Linked DNA regions of Homo sapiens: region 1 is linked to region 2. The links are contacts of gene promoters, found by promoter capture Hi-C in human tissues and cell types (Jung and others, 2019). All regions are on one chromosome and are shown on one strand. The core of a region is centred on a gene start or on the middle of the fragment in contact, and the rest is flanking DNA. Distances in the headings are between cores, read along the strand shown. Region 1 overlaps FNDC3A (fibronectin type III domain containing 3A). Region 2 holds the start of ITM2B (integral membrane protein 2B).

Region 1 (3,990 bases), core at 904-3,403, 850 kb before region 2:
CCGTCTAACCAGCATACACCACCATCTGTTTTGAACTTGCATTTCTATTTTTGAAGTCCAAGATTTCATTTGTTTTCCCTTTTGCAAATGGGATTCAATAGATGACTCATATTTAGTTCTAGTTCCGCTAAAATAAGCAAGTTCTATTCATAAAGTTGTCTTCTCTTGCACTGCAGTGGACGCTGTCATTTGTTTTAGTGCATAGAATCTGAAGTCCCTTTGTGTGTTTGAGGAGTCTCCTTGGTGTGAGATAAAGACCATCACTCCTACAGGTGCTGATAATTTGGCAGGCAGTGGTGGGTGGCTACAAAATTCCTGTTGCAGAAGTGGTATCTGTGCTAGAAGCAAGTAATACTGAGTTCTTAGTGGAGGAGGGGAAGGGGTATAATCACAGCATTGATGATGACTTCCTAATTAGACCACCTCTGTGTGGATGCCCTTTTTACCCTAGTTGGGCTCTGACTCTTCACTCTAATACATCCCCAGATTGTGCACTATCTGACCATGCTGGGACTCCTACAACCCAGGTCAGGCTACCCCTCCACACAGATGGCCTCCTCACTCTTGTTTGAGCTCTGATTCCCCATGCTGGATCATTGCATTGCGTCAGTGACTGCCTCATCCTGCTCAAGTTCTTACATGCCACACTACATACCTTCTTGATGATATCCTCCTCAGCCTTATACTCTGACTCCCTATACCAGGCTGCCTTCTTGTGTGAATTCCCTCTTCAGTCTGCTTGGGCTCTAACTCCCTATACTTGGCTATTCTCTGATGTGATATGGTTCTCATTCAATTAGGGCTCTGACATCCTACTCTGGGGAACTGCAGCTCACCTCTCCCATTCCCACTAGTGCACTGCCTATATTGTTCTGCCTCACCTAAGAGCTTCAGGACTGAGCTATTAGGAAGGAAAAGGAATGAGGACAGGAGGAGTCTCAATATCATCTTAAACTCTTTTGTGTTTTATAGGCAAGATTAAGTTTCAAAAAAGGAACCCCAACTAATACACACTATACAGTACCTAGATTTTTAAAATCAAAACGTAGAACTTTATATTTACTCCTATTAAATTTTATCCTGTTGGGTTTTTTTGTTTTTGAGATGGAGTCTTACTCTGTCACCCAGGCTGGAGTGCAGTGGCAGGATCTCAGCTCACTGCAACCTCTGCTTCCCGGGTCCAAGTGATTCTCCTGCCTCTGCCTCCCGAATAGCTGGGATTACAGGTTTGCGCCACCACATCCAGCTAATTTTTGTATTTTTAATAGAGACAGGGTTTCATCATGTTGGTCCAACTGGTCTCGAACTCCTGACCACAGGTGATCCGCCCCACCTCGGCCTCCCAAAGTGCTGGGATTACAGGCGTGAGCCACCGTGCTGGGCCTATCCTACTGTTTTTGACCTATCATTTCAATATGTTCTGATCTTCTTGAGTTTGACATTTATTAACGTTAGCAACTTTCTGACACTTAAACATTTCATAAACATGTTTTTATTTTTGTTAAAAAAAAAAAAAAAGGTACTGATTTAACAGGCTCAAAAGAAAGCCCTAGAGAACAAAATCCTGAGTAACACAACGTGAGACAAAGTTGCAGACTGGCAACGGTCTGATGATCAAATTTTATTTCATCTTCCTATAAAGGTATATAAGAAAGTCTGACAAATAAGCTTGAGAAAATAAACAGTGCTTATTCATTTTTGTCCCTCACTGAATACTGAATAAGTGAATGGATGAAGAATATAAGGTCTTTGTTTTTGTAGAAGCCACTTTGCAGAAAAATTATAATGTAGATGTGGTTAATCCATGATCAATGTAATTAGAGACTATATATGATGTAGGTCTTGGGTTCTATGGTTCCACAGATATAAGTAATATATCCCAAAAGATACGGCCTAATAATAATCTTCTCTATGACAAAATTATGTTCTAAGTCCTACATGATGTGTATACACACGGACACACACTATTTACATAAACAAGTGTAAGACACAATATATACTGAATATAATCTGACTGATACAATAGTAAGTGGCAAAGTTTGAACTCAAACCCAAGTACCCTTCTGCTTAACTACTGCCCTATTAAAGTATTAAATAATCATCAATATTTTTGCTTGTCTGTCTAAAACATAATATTTGAAGGAGCCAGAGCATATAAAAATTATTCAAGCATAGCTCGTCTGTGTATTTTTTGCTTTTCATAATTTTCTCTCTTACATGTAGTGGCATGGAATCACACCAAAGTAGAAGTGCCATAACAATGCAAAACCCCTAGATAGTTAATAAATTCTTACTCGTTAGCCCCATTTATTCATTCTGAGGTATCACAGACGAAAAGAGAAAAAGCCATACCTGCCTCTCATAAGGAGGGTTTTTAGCTACAACTGTTGGCTATAACACATCTACTTGTTTGACACATATAAATGCTCAAGAAACATCTGTTGTTTTCTCTTCTTCACTCACCTTAAACGTTTATTGAGAGTCTCTATGTGCTGGGTGCCATACAAAGCATCAGGGCTATAAACATATGTAAAAATATCTGCCTTCAATTATTTCTGTATGTGTATCTACAGCTAAAAGAGGAGAGAAACTAAAGCAAGGGCTTCACAGAACAGATGATATCTAGAGGAACCAATTTGTCATCAGGAGAGCCAGCTCTACACAGGATTCTTAAGTGTTTACTACATATTCTCTATGAAATATGCTTCTATGACCTTCCCAGTAACCCAAATTTAGAAACCTTGCCTAATTCCCTATTTTTCATAACTCTTCACAACATAAAACTAAGAAGGTAGTCTTTAGCACATGCTACAAAGATCTATTAATATAAAACCTAAAATCTCCCCATTCAATAAATTTTTACATTTCTACATACCAGTTACTAGGCAAAATACTTAATTTTCACAGTATCTCTCAATATACAAGACAATCTGTTGACATGCTATCAAAGCACTTCACTATGAAAACGTAAGAACAAGTTAGATTGTTTCAAAATACCTCTCAACAGAAAAAACCTGAGACAGACTCAAACTAGCACTCATTTCAAAAGTAATCAAGAATTTAAGTTAAAACCAGTGAATAATGGTTAAAGAAGGGGGAAAAAATGAGGTATGGGTTCATATCAGGAAATATAAACAGATCTAACCAATGACCAAAATGGAAAACTAGCAAAACAGAAGACTACACTTTTAGATATTTAAGAGTGGTGCCTTATCCAAAAGGACATGAAATAAGGTAAAGAACTAAGGGAAGACAGACATCAAATTCTGAAGAGGACTCAGAAAAAATGGTATGGGACAATAGAAAATGATCAAATCAAAAGAACAATGTAGATATTTTTAATTCTTTTCATTAAAAATATGAAAACTGTATTTTTTGAAACAAATATTGGGCCAGGTACAATTGTCCATGCCTGTAATCACAGTGCTTTGGGAGGCTGAGATGGGACGATTGCTTGAGCCCAGGAGTTTGAGAGCATCCTGGGCAACACAGTGAGAACTCAACTCTATAAAAGCATGGTGGCATGCACCTGCAGTCCTAACTGCTCAGGAGGCTAAGGCAGGAGGATCACCTGAGCCCAGGAGTTTGAGGCTGCAATGAGCTATGACTGTGCTACTACACTCCAGCCTGGGTGACAAAGAGACCCTGTCTCTTAAAATAGAAGACAAATAAATGTGGAAAAGTCCTTGTTTCTGGCCCACAGTGATTCTTCCCCAGTCCCCACCTTTTTTTTCCTTTTTATAGGGTGAAGGGAAGAGAGAGAAGCTCAGGAGTGTATTTGAAAGATTACATGTTATTATTTTATTGAACATTTCCAATGATGTTTGTAGTAGGAAGACTTTTGGTTCAACAGGTACCACATATTTACACAACTTTTTAGCAATTCCAATCTCTTTGTGGTTATTCAAATAAGTCAAGTCATTCTTTCCTTCTGTTGCTTTTGAACACTTTCCCTCTGTCTAAAGTGCCTTGAGACCCTTTGTCCATCTG
Region 2 (3,773 bases), core at 221-2,720:
CTGAAGATAGATTATATTCAGAATATAATAAATTATAATATGATGTCTAGATTACCATTATATTGTGAATTTTTTACAGTATATTAGTGGCCTGTTTTTCAGCAATAATTTTCATTCGTCCATATAAAAACTCCCATTATTCATACGTGGCACACCAATTTTTTTAAGTTAAAACTAAATTTACCCTACTGATAATAGGTCTTGAAAAATGCTAACAACAACAAAAAATAAGATAAGCAACATAACTTTACAGTTAATTTCTAATTTTTGCAGCCTAAAAAGGGTCTGGGTAAGAGGCTGTGGGCTTTTTTAACTTATGAGACAATTACACTCATATTTAAGTAAATATGATCGTAACCTACTAAAAGTCAACACAGTAACAGCCCCACTTCATGAATTTTCCTAGGATTAAAGGGAGATTTTGTAAAATAAAGGAGAATTTTATTAGGGACCCGGGGGCAAATTTCTCATGTTTAGTTTCACGCAGCAGGAGTCCTCACAAAGACGCTGATACAATTTAAATGCCAACAATTGGTTTTTCACTAACATCCACATAGTCATTACTGGCCTTTACTAGTAATGGTAAGAGACAGCCCAAACCTACTTCGGGCGGACTGTCCCTTCGTCCCCTCTCCAGGTGAAGTTCACCTGCCACTACCGAAGGGCCGTGGAAAAAGGAGGTAAAGAAACGCTTTTAAAATTAAGACGCTTACAGTTGCTGGACTTAGTCCAAGTGCTGTTCAAGCCTAGAAACGAAAGTGGGAAACAACAGAGGTTTAGGCTTGTAATGATGTCAGCCATTTTAGGTACATTATTTATACTGGGAAGGAAGTGCCAAACTCGGTTGTTGTTGTTGTGCCTGTCGCTGCCGGTCCCCAGATCGAACAAGCCAAGTCCTGGCTGCACGCACGCTCCCCGGACTGCACAAACGACCGGGAATTCGGCACAATTAGCCAATCGTTCCCTCTCCAGGCCTCCCAAGCCCCCGACCCCGCGTCAGGCACCGCTTCCAGCACACGCACTTCCTTACAAAGGAGCTGCGGACCCACAGGAAACGGGAGCGCCGGGCTCTCTCGGGGACTTGTCCCCGCGGCGCGAGCCCCGCGCCCGCCACCTCGGGGCGCACTGCCGCTGCAGTCCGCGCAGCCCTCCCCGGCCGGGCCCAGCACCCGCTTCCTCGACCTCCCCGGGCTCGGACCTTGCAGTCCACCGCGACGGCGTCGGGGGGGATGATGAGCGCCTCCTCGCCGCTCTTGGGCTCGTCCTTCTTGGCCTCCTTCTGGGCCAGAGCGGAGTTGAACGTCACCTTCACCATGGCGCGGCCTGGGGCGCCCTCGAAGGGCGGCGGCGGGCTCGGGGCGCGGGCTGCGGGCTCCCGGCTGCGATTGCAGCCTCTACGGCCGGGCTCCGGGAGCGGCTCCGGGCGGCTGAAGAGGTTCGGGAAGCTCCGCGGCGGCAGAGGCGGCTACTGCGGTAGGGATCTCGCAGCCTCCCAGCTCCCGCGCGAGGGCGGAGACTGCTCGCACATCCCCTGGGAGGCGGGGCGGGGGCGGGGGCGGGGCCAGCGGCCGGGGGTGGGGTGCTGCGCGGGACCCTGCCCTCGCCCCGCAGCTGGGCGCCGGATCCCGGCGCGCCTCGGAGAGGGATGGGTGTCCCTCTGGGCCGCCTGGAATTTCCAGTTCTGAATTCGCTCCCAACCAGGTTACCTCCAGGCCGAGTGCTGCAGGTTTGTAGCGAAATCGAGTGAACTTTCCTGAGTTCGCCGGGTACAAGGGACTAACCTTTGGCAGCACCAGACCGCCGCTTCCCTGTACCCTGTCCCCACCGCGAGCCTAAAGGCCATGGAATTTTTGTGCATCCACATCTTCATTTTCTCACTTATTAGGTAACCGACTCAGTGGAGCACAAACATGTTTAAAGCTCTCTGTCCTTGAGATCTGACTTTATCTTTCACGGACCTCACCCAAGGGCGTTTACCTGGCTCAGACCTGCCTGGTCTTCCTTCCCTCTCTCAGGAGGTCAGGGCCTGTTCTGCCTAGTCCCAGACCAATGTGGAGGAAGCTCTTGGCAGATTTGTATTTCAAACATCTCACACTCGTAAAACGAAATGTTCCACTCTTGTGCGTACTTGGAAAAAAACCACATGCACACTTGGCTGATTTGTGACTCAAAGTACTCGATGACGAGTCCCTTTATTTTTCTGCAAAATGAAAAAATAATTAAGGATAACGCAAAATTCTCATGTTTTGAAGACGTTTCATTTACAACTAATGCGAGGTAGAATACTGGCTCCCGTCGTTACTGCGTTCATTACTGTGTCAACAGACGGCCCCCTTGGACAAATGTGTTATCTTGTATCCTTCCACCCCATTCTGTCCTGGTTCATCCAGAGTTGTGGGTGTGCTCTAGAATGTTACAGCTGTGTCAGCTCTGCCTTGGGCCAACCCTGAAAAAAGTGGGTTCAGTCTGAGATCTTTGGGGATTTGGCCCTGCTCAAGGAGGGAGTTGGGTATTTCCATAGAATGTCAGATCATAAGTCCCAGGGAAACAGCCCAAGATCTCCAAATCCTTCTGTTCATGTATTTCAGAAGCATCCTGGGCTGAGATAGAAACCCAGGCCAGACTTTGAGTTTGCTTTGGGTATTCAGAAATTCCTGTCAAAATGAAATCTGCTCAACCAAGAGGAGGATGAGTTAGGTTCCAGTTCTGGTGAGTTTTAACAGTAGCTAACCATACTTGCAGCAACTTATTTAAACTCCTGGGTCGCCCTTGTGCAGGCATCGGCTCTGTGAGGTTGACTCTATGGACTGGACTTTCATAGTATCTAATGTTATCTAATTCCTCAAAGTCAACGACTGCTTCCAGCTCCCTAGTTTAATAGGTTCCCTGAGACATTACAGTTGAAGACTAAGTATTTCTGGAAGCAAGATCTGGAGGATTATAAATAATTATATGTACATCCTTCCTACTTCGTTCTGTGTTAAAATAAGATGGTAGAAAAATACTCAAGGCATTTTGCAGTAGATGATAGAGAAGAATCTGGCTGTCATTATACTCCGGGGGGAAAAAAGGAATTACAGAAGAAAATAAAACAAAATTCTTCGTGAACAACACTACTGAACAGACTAGGAAGCTGAGGCAAAGGATGAACAAATGAGGTTGACAAAACTAGAAATCCTCCCCGCCCCAGGATTTCTATTTTGAAAGACTCATGAATAAAAGACCATTCATTATTTTGTGTACTTGCAGTGAGCAACAGTTTAAAATCAGTTGGCAACCGGTCTGGGAATAATCTCCTGGTTTTTTTTCTCCATTTTATCTCATGTGTCTACAGAACTGTGTAGTGCACAACAGCAGGGATAATAAAGACGCTGGAGCAAGACCAAACATAGCAAATCCAGTCTTGTGATTTAGAAAAGGTTGCCCGTTGACCCTGAAAACTTAGGAGCCAGGGAGGAGGAGAGTCCATGACTCAACAAAAGAAAGTTAAAAACATAGTTATAAGTTACTATTAACTACCAAATGTAAAGGGAGTCTTAGAGGACCTTTGTTTTCCTTTTTGACGTTGAGTTTGAGAGAGCAAGATGAATCTGATTCCAGCTCTGCATATCACCAGCAACCATGTTTGTTTTTATGCTTACCAAAGGAGGGAGGAAAAAATGGAAGTGGGGAACTGAATTCTAAAATATTTTAATAGATTTGCATTATGTGCTTCAACAGGGATTTTTTTTTTCTTTTTAGGTTCTTTACATCTCTATTCTGTCTGTTCTTTC

Evidence for each region. The method cuts DNA at HindIII sites, captures the fragments that hold promoters and counts their contacts. A contact is called where the count stands out against the background at its distance.
Region 1: a contact is called between a fragment that was not itself captured here and the fragment with the promoter of ITM2B in region 2, in 2 of the 25 tissues and cell types used here (H1 embryonic stem cells and dorsolateral prefrontal cortex).

What each region holds. Positions count from the first base shown.
Region 1 is chr13:49,079,497-49,083,486 of GRCh38, reverse strand. All of the region lies in intron 3 of FNDC3A (fibronectin type III domain containing 3A), which reads right to left. Among named protein-coding and RNA genes, the nearest start is that of FNDC3A, 110 kb to the right of the region's middle. RefSeq lists enhancers at 66-155, 366-425, 616-865. The HindIII fragment of the contact is 8,841 bases long and covers 1-3,990 here.
Region 2 is chr13:48,230,903-48,234,675 of GRCh38, reverse strand. ITM2B (integral membrane protein 2B) reads right to left here and starts at 1,470. Exons shown (of 6, transcript NM_021999.5): 1 at 1,199-1,470. The coding sequence starts at 1,315. RefSeq lists an enhancer at 262-959 and silencers at 1,015-1,224, 1,235-1,594. The HindIII fragment of the contact is 16,899 bases long and covers 1-3,773 here.